Regions from separate parts of the Homo sapiens genome. Here region 2 is linked to region 1. Evidence: promoter capture Hi-C in 16 types of primary human blood cells and fetal thymus (Javierre and others, 2016). All regions are on one chromosome and are shown on one strand. The core of a region is centred on a gene start or on the middle of the fragment in contact, and the rest is flanking DNA. Distances in the headings are between cores, read along the strand shown.

Evidence for each region. Contacts are between HindIII fragments. The CHiCAGO score rates a contact against its expected background, and 5 or more counts as called.
Region 2: a contact is called between a fragment that was not itself captured here and the fragment with the promoter of CLRN1-AS1 in region 1, in 1 of 17 cell types (endothelial precursors). The highest score is 5.6, in endothelial precursors.

The regions. Positions count from the first base shown.
Region 1 is chr3:150,970,045-150,976,621 of GRCh38, forward strand. CLRN1-AS1 (CLRN1 antisense RNA 1) reads left to right here and starts at 2,634. Exons shown (of 6, transcript NR_024066.2): 1 at 2,634-3,049. CLRN1 (clarin 1) reads right to left here and starts at 2,683. Exons shown (of 3, transcript NM_174878.3): 1 at 2,412-2,683. The coding sequence starts at 2,664. The HindIII fragment of the contact is 6,166 bases long and covers 1,039-6,577 here.
Region 2 is chr3:151,133,723-151,140,299 of GRCh38, forward strand. The region is part of intron 5 of MED12L (mediator complex subunit 12L); the gene reads left to right. Among named protein-coding and RNA genes, the nearest start is that of MED12L, 51 kb to the left of the region's middle. The HindIII fragment of the contact is 1,345 bases long and covers 2,752-4,096 here.

The DNA of each region.
Region 1 (6,577 bases), core at 1,384-3,883:
AGAAGACATTCTGGGAAATGAATTGTGCACTAATTGTAAGTTGAGCTCTGGAAGAAACAGAAAAGAGTCATCCACCTGAGCTCTCTGGAGGTCCCTGCTTTTTGCTCCAAGGAAGCCACTACTGAGAAAGTAAGGTTAGATCTTTTATTCATTTATATGAACAGGGCTTATACATTTCTATCAGGAAGAATATCAGAGGATTCTCATCCAAGCAAACGTTGATGAAACATCATTGACAGGGTAATGACATTCTGAATGGAAAAAACGTGAACCACAAAGCTGCGTTGCAATGGGAGTGTAAACTTTGAGGGTGCAATGTGTCCCAAAGGCATGTTGATTAGAAAGTTTTAACACTGAGAGGGGTGTTTATTTAAATGAATATTATCCTCTTTGGGGAGTCCATTGGATCTATTTATTTTGGTTTTCCCAACTCTGTCTCATGCTGCATTGAAAAAGATACTTTTATGCTTAGGAAAAAAAAAAAAGCTCTACTGTAAGTATTCTTAGCTGGGCCTCACCAAAATGAATGAGATTTTTAACATGTATAGTATATACAGTACACTTAATATGTATAGTCTATTGTATATTGATGGAGCTGTCACTGCAGAATGAACAAGTAAATGGAAGATTTTCTTCACTAGGCTAGGGGGAGAATGTCAGGGGTATCTGGGAGCTAATGAAATTCTGTGAGATAAGTGAGGGTACTGTTTAAACCCCACCAGTTCTGCAAGTCCTCACAGAAAGCAAAAGGAGGGGCACCCAATTAGAACAACTTCATCCTTAGACAGGACAAGCATAGGACACAACCACAAAAATCATTCGCTAAACCCCAGAAGAATGTGGCTGTGTAAGGATTAAATGAGACAAAGCATATAAAGTGCTTAGTATGTAGTAAGTGTTCAGAAAACATCTTATTATTGTTTTGAAACATGTCCTATGGCATGAGTAAAGTTTATCTCCATTTCACTGTAGAAAATGTAAAGGCTCCAGAAAATTCACCAGTACCTTCTCCGCTTTTGTCTAAATTCATCTGTGAGAAGCTTTACTCACGCTTTGGCTGCCGGTGACTCACGGTTAAATCATCTCTCTCAACTTTTTTCCTTTTCGGTTTTTTAATACAGTTGCATATCACATGACATTCTGCTTTGTTTTCTTCCTTCCCCTTCCCCAGGAAAACTAAGCAACTCTAACAGCCCCATTACCTTAATGAATAAAAGCCATTCAGTGAAAAGAACTGGTATCCACTTCATCAATTAAAAAGCTAACAACCAATTCTTGGAAATTTTCTGGAGCCCTATGAAAATTCATATCACTTAGTAACCTATGTGAGCTGAAGGTTGGTGTCCAATGACTGCTAAGAAGATATAAGGAATGTTGCAGAAATATAAATAGACCAGCACTGAAATTTAATTAGGCACTGCATATGTTAATAATAAATTCAATTAATTTAGCCTTCTACCTATACTAGAAAGAAAAAAAAAACCTGGGCAAAATAATAATTCATTTTAAATGCTTCAGTTGGTAACCTCCTTTCCTGAAGAGTGATTTATGCAGTAATTTACTGACTGTGTCTTCATAAGGTTGTTCCAAACCAGCCCTTCTGAAATAATAATAACTTCTGAATGTGTGTTGTAAGAGATATAACAAATGACTTCCTATTAATTTTCATTTAATGAGTTGCCTATTCACATGGTAATTTTTAAAAATTCTCTTCTTAAGATAAACAGGTTATAAATACTGTGGATTACACTTCCATTTCACAAAAATCACAACAAGAAAATCTCTCTCATATTCTCTACATGATTTGCAGGTCAATCAGTTTAAAATGTTCTATACTAAATAGGCATCCATTTCTTTCCCAGTTAGCACAGCAGATCATTTTAAATTTCTATAGCCAAATGATTCCAAATTAGTTAAAAATGAAAACTGAATATTTAGCAGCAGGAAAGGTCTTAGCAGGAATAATGGGAGGGAGTGGGGAGCAGGAAACAAAATCATGAGAAAGGTGGCAACCTGGTTAAATACGGAGCCCATGACCTTGGTTCTTTTTATAAAGAACAAAAAGCATAAAGATCATTCTTTACAGCTTTCCTATTTCCCCAAGTTTACTTTTTTAAAAAGACTCCATAATTTTTTACATAAATATTAATACTTAAGCATCTTAATTGCCAATATTTCCAAAAACCTTAATTATGTAACAATGAATTAACTCTATATTATAATAAAAAGCAAGTATAAAATAATAAAAACTAGGAAGAAGAAATTGCTCAGAGTCATAGGTTTTTCATATGGTTCACACCGATTTAAAAAGTCCTGCAGTAAACACGGCAAAATTCTCAAATATAATTCCTCGCAACACTGGGAAGAGTCTGCCTAAAGCATTAAATAACTCAAATGCAATTGCTACTTACATGAGAACCGAAAGGGCCTTGCTCCCAACCCACACTGCCTCACACCCTCTCCGTGGAAAAGCCCGTACTGCATTTCACCCATAAACTTGTCCAGCTCCTGCCCTGAGGCATTGACGAGCAGAGCTCCCGTTTTGCAGAGGACAGTGGCTTTGATCCACAACGGTGTCCCCAAGGCTGTCACAACTCCGAGGGCACATGCAAAACTGAACACTCCGGCCATGCAAAAAATGATTTTCTTCTGTTGGCTTGGCATGATGAGAAACGGCTTCTGTGAGGGCGAGGTTCAAAAACAAGACCTTTGTGAGCAATGGGAAGGGACTGCCTCTTTGACTGCATTTATTACGGAAGCTGAACGGACAGCTCCCAGCTGAAAAGGCAACTTCACCATCGACGGTTCTCGCCAGGTTAAATGTCAGTAGATGAAGGCCTCATCATCACTCATACTTGGCTTTTCTCCTTTTCTGCTGCTTCTTCTCCCTAATTGGAAATCTTTGGACTAAGAATCTGTAAAACAAGTCTTTCAAACTGCCTTCAAGTATCTCCTCTGTGTCACTTGGTAACAAAGGTCGAAGATAACAGATGGAGTCCTCAGTGTAACTTGATAAATGTTTCCCTTCCTCAGCCTTTTGTCTGATTGGGTGAGTTGAAACTTTCAGAAACAGGCTTGAATCTGATGGTACATTTTCAGCAACTTGAGAAGTTCACTTATCGATGTTTTTATTTTTGTTTTTTGTTTGTTATTGTTTTTGGTGGTGGGGGAAGGAGCTTTAGCAGAGGTAGGGAGAACATATGTACCTGTATTGATAGTTGATGTCAAAAATTTTTAATTACAGCAGGATAAAAATATTAAACAGAATTTGGTCCTACACGAATATTAAGTGCTCTGGATCAACCATGGGTCCTTGTCCTTCCAACTTAATTTCTCCCAGATCCATGGTTTATACCTAATGTATCAATAGAGAATTTGATTCAAATTTTTCTTGGCATACAGAAATATGAAAATGCAGGAGCAGATATCTAGATTTCTAAATGCTTTCCTTTAACAGGCTTAGCTGCTTTAGGATAATAGCAAGGGAATGTGTTTCTGGGTCCAAGGAATACCAGGATCTGTAAAGATAAGGGCATATTGATGGAAAGAGGGATGGTGGTCAGATAGGTGACTCTATGGATTCATCATAAAAATGCACAGGTCTCAGCAAAGGTAATCTGTTTGGGAGACTAGAGACAGTTATGAGCAAAGATTAAGCAGCAGGTAGGTCTGGTTAAACGGTCAAGACCTGGAAACTAAAGTTCAGAATTCAGTAACAGCTTTTTAACTTTGCATTTCCAATGAGATTCCTCCTTCTACAGACACAGGACTGTGTGTGTGTGTGTGTGTGTGTGTGTGTGTGTGTGTGTGTGTGTGAAGTGTCTAGTGAATGTTTATTATATGCCATGTTATTGTCCTGAGCTCTGACCTACAAAGTTAATGTTTAGTAAGAACTTATGTCTGGCAACTTGTGAAGTATTCTACCTAAATTATCATATGTAATTCTCATAATTAGCATATAAAGTAATGAAGAAGAGGAAGAAGAAGAGGAGGGAGGAGGAGAAGAAGGAGGAGGAGGAGGAGAAAGGAAGAAGGAAGAAGAATAAGAAAGAAGAAAGAAGAAGAAAAAGCAATTATTCGTATCTTATATATAAGGGAATTGAGGCTCAGAGAGTTTAAGCAACTTGCTGAAGAGAGTAGTGGAGCTGGGATTCAAATCCAGGTCTTCTACTTCTGAGGTTGATGTTCTATTCCAAGCAAAGCCCCTGACCTTGAAAAGATGGCAAACATTTCAGTTTGGGTTGGGTTCGTCTAGGAGTAACAGGGGCAGACTAGCCCATTATTAGTTACACATATTGAGTGTTTGAAGAACACAGACATCAGTAAATAGAACTTTTTCAGTTGGCCAAAAGCACATGTGTATGCTAGCTTCTATTCTTTTGATCCACCTTTAAGCATGACAGCTTAGAGGAAATTAATAAATGAAGACTTATTTCACACCATTTTCAGCATAAATGAGTCTCTACATTATGCACACTTCGAAGGGAACTTTGAGGTATAGACTCGGAGTACTGGTAAACTTCTCTCACAGCTCGCCTCTCCTAGGAGTCGCAACAGCCAGTCTCGTTAAGGACAGACAACTAAGTATAGAACTCATTCTAGAATGCCAATGTACCTTCGGGGAGAAGAGGGGCAATATAAAACATGGCCACAGAAGAACTGGGCATATAGAAGATTCCAAAGAGGCACTTAAAATAAAGTTTACAATATTAGTAAGTCTTTTTTATTTTGTATAACTTAACACAGAATAAGCAACTCATCCCAGTTTATTTGGCCTTCCAATGAATTCACCACTGGATTTAGAATAATTGCTAGAACACAGAATAAGCAACTCATCTCAGTTTATTTGGCCCTCCAATGAATTCACCACTGGATTTAGAATAATCGCTATCATGGTCCACTAGCAAAACAAGGGGGTGCCAGTGCCCCTGATAAGTGGTTATTTGGGCATATATGTGCCACAGTCACCCTAGAAAACTTAGTTTAAGATGTCTAAGCAGAGCTGAGCTTACTAAATCAACATATTCTGTAATTGGAAGAGACAGAACATTTCCAAAGCCTGGGAGAAGAAATCACCTACAACTTAATCAATACTATTAATAACCTCTACTAAAGGATATGGCAAGAGAAGGATAGTTAGCATAGGACAGCGGTTTAATTAACCCAAACTCAGCCAAGTATATCTAAAGCTGTCCAAGGAGGAAAGCCTTGATTATGGGTGTAGAGAGCAATTAGATCACATCAGTTGCATCAGTTTGCATCAGTCTGTAGCGACATGTTCACTCGTCTGTAGAGACATGGGAAAAATAAATACAACATACTGAGTTACTCTTATATCCTGAAGTTAGGCCCTTCCTAATTTTTATTGTTGAAATTTTCTTTCTTTAATGAGATAATGGTAGTTGAATTTTTAATGATTTTATTTGACAAATTTAGAAACTGGCAAACCTATGTCTACTCCTGATTTAAAACAAAACCAAATCAAACCCACTGCTCTATGACATAAAAGATCCCTGAGTGGAAAGGGTGAGACTCACCCTTTGAGGCCTAAAACCTCACCCTTTGCTTTGACACGGTGGTTCTCAGTTTTGCTGCTCATTAGAATCACTTGAGAAGATTTTAAAAGTACTGATGTCTGTGTCCTCATCCCTGAGATTCAGATTTATTTGATTTTAGAGTATGGCCTTAGCGTCGAATCACCCCAGGTGATTGCATTGTGCAGCCAAGGTTGGAAGCCACTGCCCTTATCTCCTTTTCACATGGCTATCTACTGATTACAAACTAGGCTTTGCAGGCATCTCAGTGCTGGAATGCACACAGACATGAGCATCTGGGTCGCTAGAGAGGAATATGCTCATAGCAAATTAATAAATAGGCACTACCATTTACAGCTCAAACTTTCCTACATTTTTTCAGCACTAGGTTTCAGCATATCCACAACAAAAGACCAGGCCCCGATTCATAGATTTACCCCCAAATCACCATATGAATATCAATGGTGCTGTATCCTGTTCATGTGAGGCAGCCCCCCTCACCTCTTCTCCATGCAGCTTCCTTTCAAACTTCAGCATCAGCCACCCACAGGCTGCGTAGTAGTGTGTGTGATCCACCCTCTGAGAATGATATAATGGAACCTGGCAGTCATTATGCCTGACAGCCTTCTTTTGAAATTTCATCTTAAATGTCTTGAATGACAGTGATGACACCATTTTCCTTGCAGTCTCTCTGAGAATTTGAGTCATTAATGTCAGCAAGTTTTCACCAAGTATCCTGCTGAAATCTTTACTTCTCTCAATCTTAATAGGAATACATTCGGTGACATAAGAAAATGGAACTAGGCCTCCCCCTCCTCTGACCCCTTTCAGGTGCTGGATAATGATATAATTCTTCAGAGTGACTAGAGATTCTGTAGAGAAAGGAGCACAATTGCAGACTCTGTTTTCACTTCCAGTGTAGCATTTGTGCCTCTTCTCACACTAACTTGGCTGCATCAGTTTTTCCTTATAACCATTTGAAAACAAAAGAAAAAAAGCAGCCCCATTACAAAGGGATGCAAATTCTCACCTGGTTTGTTCGC
Region 2 (6,577 bases), core at 2,174-4,673, 160 kb after region 1:
GTTGAATTAAGTTTCATTTTTAAGAGAACAAGATTGTTCAGCTGCCTTAAATATTTTGAGCTCACCAGAGAAAATTATTTAAAACAGGCTAGCTAATACTTAAAAATGAAAAAGTAAAACTCACATTGAGTTATGCAATTGAAGTCTTTGAACAGATTAGGAAATATGACTTTATAGTAAATAACGGAATTTTGTACATTTATTTATAGGAATTTTCCCCATGAGGAGTCTTATTGTTGCTGAATCAACTAATAATAACTACAGCATTTATTGCTGTTATTGCTGTCACTGTTAACAGCATTTCTTGAGCACTTATGGAATCCCCGGTATTGTGATAAGCAGGGATACGGTGCTAACTGCATTTCAAGGTTGAATCAGCTCCCGATGTGTGCTGGGTAATGATCTAGGTTGTTTGGAGAAGCTTGTCAGCCATGGGAATGCCCCATCCCTTGCTGTTGTGGGGTTGTTTTTTTTTTTTTTTTGGCCTGTTTGAAAATGGTCAGTCCCTCACCAGGTCTATTGGCTCTCTGCCACGGTTCTTCTGTTGTGCAGTGATACAGTGTTCCCCATTTCATTAGTAAATGTTTGCTGGGTTCTATGTATATTTTGTCCGTTTTATGACTTATTATTCAGATAGCCTGTGAAAGAGATACGTTATTCTCATTTCGTGGATGAGGATGGTGATGTGCAGGTGGTGCACAGAACCCCTCAGCGTAAGTGTCCAAACTTGGCTCCAGAGCCTGTGCTGGACACCACTGGTCAGTGAGGACAAGAGTGTGACAGTGTAATCACTGCCCTCTAGGTATTTGCAGTATGAGTAGGGGACATGCATCCAAACAATCAAATATTAGAGAAGGAAGACTTCATAGTGACAGGAAGAAAATACAGAGGAAGTCTTAAGGAATAAGCCACTGAGGGAACTTGGGACATCCAGGAGATTCACAGAGGAAGTGACTTAGGTGTATACTTTTGCAAGAAGAGACGCTTCCTAGGAGGACACAGCTGGAGTGGGCTGTTGTTCAGGGAAGGGCATTTCTGACAGAAGGATGAAGTCTGCAGAGAAATACGTTATCAAATAGTTTGACTTGTTGCACCTCCAGGATTTAACTTCAGCTTGAGCATCAGTTACCAGTGGGGAGGTGCTGAAAGCCTGTGTGAAGGTTTGTTTGCCAGAGTGAGATATGTGAGTTCCCTCTGGTGCATGATGAAAAGCCATGGAAGGGTTTATTATTACTATTATTGTTATGACTCTTTCCCTCAGTTTCTTGTCTGTAAAAAAATAAGGATAATTGACAGTACTTATTTATTTATTTATTTTTATTTGAGATGGAGTCTCCTCTGTTGCTCAGGCTGGAGTGCATTGGTGTGATCTCGGCTCACGCCAACCTCCGCTCTCAGGTTCAAGCAATTCTCCCACCTCAGCCTCCCAAGTAGCTGGGATTACAGGCACCTGCCATCGTGCTCCTCTAATTTTTGTAGAGACGAGGTTTCACCATGTTGGCCAGGTTGGTCTTGAACTCCTGACCTCAGGTGATCTGCCCACCTTGGCCTCCCAAAGGGCTGGGATTACAGGCGTGAGCTACCACACCTGGCCTGATAGTACTTTTTAAGAATGAAATGAATCGATACCTTTAAAGTGTTTAGAACAGTGACTGGCATACAGTAAATGTAGACCATTGATAATATGCGACAACTGCTACTTAGAACTGCTGTTACCAGCCAGTATTTATTGATTATCCTGTGTTACTCCGTTGGGAACTTTGCAGACTTTATCTGTAACCTTGCAATGTAGGTTTCATTATTCCATTTTGTGTATGAGGGACCTGAGTCTCAGAGAAGTTAAGTAACTTGCTGGCCTAGATGGAGTTGGATCCCTGCCCAGGCACCTGCCACTAGAGTGCCTGCTCCTCACTCCTCGCTGTGAGGTGATAGCTGCTGGTGGCCTGTGTGTGGTGTGGGTCTGGGCCACTGGAGGCAACAAGCATCTCTAGGTGGAAAGATGCTGGCAGGAAGCAGGCTGCGGGACTGGTGGCTCTGAGCAGCATCTGAGGAGTCAGAACTCTTGTTCTCATGGGTGCTATGGGGAACAGGAGGAGCAAAGCAAAGTCCAGGGTGCCATGGCAACTAGAGAAAGAAATATGAAACTGCTTGCAAGATGAGCAGCCTTAATTCTGCCTAGGAATTTTTGGGTATTCAATATGGTGAAAAGTGACAAGACATATCATGCGCATGAGGTCTTTTTTGGGGGAACAGATAGATTCAAAGAAGCTTAAAATGCTTCGTGGTTAAACTGCCTGGGGCACTGCTCTGTTTACCCCTAGTCATTTCCTCTGTGCCACCTGAGGTTTTGTGGGGATTTGAGTCAGATGAGAGACTTTTCTTGGTTGACTATACTCTTGTAACCACTATCCTTATCGCTCCCAAAATACAAAGAATAAACAGCCACCCTTCTTTCACAGTGGGTAATTAATTTGTGACATATTCACTGAGCCATTTGGACTGCAAAAATAAGTCCTGCTAAACTCATAATTGACAGTCTGGTTTCTTATCTAAGCCTACCAGCTTACTTGCAGTTTGGGTCTGTGAAGACATTGCATACTAACTTTTTTGATTCCAGGGACAAGCGTTTAGTTTTGTCAAGATTGCCTCCACATTTTCACAGTGTTCCTTCTATCTCATTTGTCATAAAGGCGATATCTGCCTTGTTTATGCTGAAAGTAATCCTGAAGATTGGACAGAAGTGCTTGTATAAGCTTAGTTTAAATTCACACTTTGCTTAGGCATGAAAAATAGGTTTTAACCGGTGAGGTAACTCTGGCTATCTGGTAAAAACCATTCTCCAATAGAAGGAATGGGGCTATTGGGGGTGAGACTTTGGTACCTGCAGCTATTCCATTCCTCAATAATCTTTTACCTAAAAGTTTTAACATCTGTTGATGAACTGAGCCTGGAATAGTTATTTCTTTGGGAATGGCAAGATGTAGGCATTCTTCAGTAAATGAGGGCTTTCTCTCATGTGATAAATTACAGTTCTTTCTAAAAAAGGCAGAATAAATGCTAAATTCTTTTCCTTTGATTTCAATTTTGGGAGTAGAAATTGTTGCATCTCCACAGTGGTGAAAAATGTTTCTCTATTTTTTTATTTATTAAAAAAGTTTAGGCTGTGTGCGGTGGCTCACACCTGTAATTCCAGCACTTTGGGAGGCTAAGGTGGGTGGATCACGAGGTCAGGAGATCAAGACCATCCTGGCCAACATGGTGAAACCCCATCTCTACTAAAAATACAAAAATTAACTGGGCATGGCGGCATGTGCCTGTAATCCCAGCTACTCAGGAGGCTGAGGCAGGAGAATCGCTTGAACCTGGGAGGCGGAGGTTGTAGTGAGCTGAGATCGCACCACTGCACTCCAGCCTGGTAACAGAGGTAGACTCCGTCTCAAAAAAAAAAAGAAAAAAAAAAAAAAGAACGAAAAAAAGTTTATTTTTGATCATTGTTATGGGCTCATGAAGTTTTATTTATTCTGTATTTTACAACCAAGTACACTTCTGTTAAATTTCGTGTTAAAATTGCCCCAAAATTGGCCAGAGACCCTTCTAGCTCCTTGTAAACTTTTGACATGACACCATTTGTCATGGGACATCTCCTTGCTTTCTGGCACAGAAAGATGTCCCAGGCGCTTGTAATTTTCCTGCCTCAGATCTCCAAAGAGCCTTTTGTCTAAGGAACTCTGCTTCTTTCTAGTGGGGAATGGTATTTAGAAAGCAAGATCTGGGTGCTAAAGGTGCTCATTGCTACTGGGATGTTGTGTCTAGGCCCCATCAGTGGGTAAATGGATGGAGACACACATATCTGCATGTGTGTGCATGTATGTGGGGGTTTTCCTATTTCCAGCTTATCTTTAGCATTTCCTATTTAACAAGAAAGAGTTTTTAGTAATTTCTTCAATTTTATGTTTATTTCATTTCTATTACATGAACAATCAAATGATTTCTAGTAAATGAACATGGTTACTTACCTGCTTCATCTTGCTACAAACATATTGGCTTGAGAATTATAATCTGATACATTAAAAGTATGTGAAATTTTTTTTTTTTAAGCTTTACACTGTGTTTCACTTAAAATGATTCTCTCTGCAGTAAGGTACACTGTTTCAGTTTGTTTTCCATTTTAGGGTTTGATTTTTTTCCCTTATGAACTAATTTTATATTTTGAATATGTAATACCTTGACATATTCAAGAGTCAAAACTATATAAAGATGTGCAGAAGTTTTGCTTCTATCTCCATCTTTTCACACAATTCCCTTTACCCCATCTTCAGATGTAACCATTTCTTACTAGTTTTTAATCTTCCAGTTTTTATTTTTGCAAAAAATATGCAAATACTTATATCTTCTTATTTCTTCTTTCTCCTTACATAGTAATTAGCATACTATATATACTGTTGGATACCTTGCCTTTTTTTTTAACTTAACAATATCCTAGTGATTACTTGATGTTCTCTGTTCCTTTTTGTGGCCTCTTAGTCCTTCATTGTGTGGATGTACCACAGTTTGGCCAGTCCCTTGTTTTTATTTCAAAAATGTTAAAAAAACTTTTTAGATTTACAGAGAAATTGAGAAGATAGTACAGAGTTCCCATGCATTCTCTCACCCTTGCAAACAGTTTCTCCCATTATTAACATTTTGCATTAATATGATACATTTATTATAATTAATGAACCAATATTGATTATTATAAAAGTCAGTCCATACTTTGGATTTCCTTAGTTTTAACCTAATGACCCTTTTCCATTTCAGGATCTTATTCAGGATATTATATTACATTTAGTTCTCATATCTCCCTAGGCTTCTCTTGGCTGTGACATTTTCTCAGTTTCAGTGATGTTTGACAGTTTTGAGGAGTACTAGTCAGGTATATTGTAGGGTTATCTTCTGTTGGAATTTGTCTGATATTTTTCTTATGGTTAGACCAGGGTTACAGAAGTCAAATGTCATTCTCATCATGTTACATCAAGGGTACATGCTATCACCATGACTTATGACTATTGATGTTAACCTTGATCACCTGGCTGAGGTAGCACTTACCAGGTTTTACAGTGTAAAGTTATTTCCCTCCCATCCCTTTCCACACTTTACTCTTTGGAAGGAAGTAATATGGACAGTCCACACTTAAGAAGTGGGGAGTTAACCATCCCCCTCCTTGAGGGCAGAGTATCTACTTATTTAAAATTCTTCTGCATGGGTGATTTGTCTCTTATCTACCTACCTACCTACCTACCTGCCTACCTACCTACTATTCTTTCATTCATTAATGTATGTATGTATTCAAGCATTTCTATCAGTATTGATTCATAGATGTTTACTTCATCTTTTGGTTTATAATACTCTATTTTGTTCCACCTTTGTCCATTGAGAGCTCTTTCAGCTGTGTCCTGTGTCCATTTGACATACCCATCTTAGTTTGCTTTTGTTTTTGTCTTTCTAAGTACTTTCTTCTTTTCTGGCACTAGAAGGTGCATTCCATGTTCATTGTGTATATTTTCTGTTCCAATCCTATAATGAGCCATTTCTCCAAGGAGCCCTGGTTGTCTTTAAAGGAGAGTGGTATTAGAAACCAAGAGTTGAGCACAAAGAGTGCTTATTGCTACTTGGGGTGTCACTGCTTCTAGGCCCTCTCAGTTGACAGATTAAGGAGATGCATGTGTGTGGACTAACTCATGTATGTACATATATTTATAAATATTTTTATATGTGATTGTGTTATCTCTTGAGCTAAACATGAATTCTTATTGATGCCTGGTAAGTGCATTTTTCCATTTTGTTAGATTCTGCCAAGTTTTCCTTCATAGTATTAACATGGACTAGACCTACTCAAGTTGTGAGAGGAGAATATTGGCGGGACAGGCATAGGAGAAATATGTAAGCAAGGTCTTGATGGGAGGTGAAAGAGAGCTGAATGTTCATCATCTTCCATGTAGGAAGCCAGTGGGTAATGCTTACAATCAGGAAGTAGGACTGTAAGCATGTTATTTAGAGGTAGAGGTAAATACAACAGATGAAAGAGTTGAAAATAATTTGCTTTTGGAGAATAATTGAGGAGTTTATGGACAATAGGCTGTTGTGTTCACAATAAATCATATAGAACTATTGGACTCTTTAAGACATGCACAAGAGGAGCTTTCATATAAACAAAAGTTAGCTAAGCCTAATCGCAGTCCCAAATTATTACTGCCTATTTTTTGTTGTCATTGGTACTTTTCCTGGAAGATATCTTGCTGTAAGAATGTTTTATGAAAAAGATTTGGAGGAAGTTTAAGGAATGCCATCTTACCCAGTAGCATTACAATTTAGTTATTCTTAGATAAATTGCAAGAGCTTACTTTTCTCTAAGCTAACTACTTGCTTTTTGGGACCTTAACTTAAATGAAGTAGATGTTCTTTGTAAAAATTGGAAGACCTCTAATATTTTTCCAGGTATGTAGCTTTTTAGTTAATTGAATATGCAAATTTTCCCTATTTACAGACCCTTTATTAACGTAAAATAACATAAAATTTACCATTGTAACCAACAATAAGT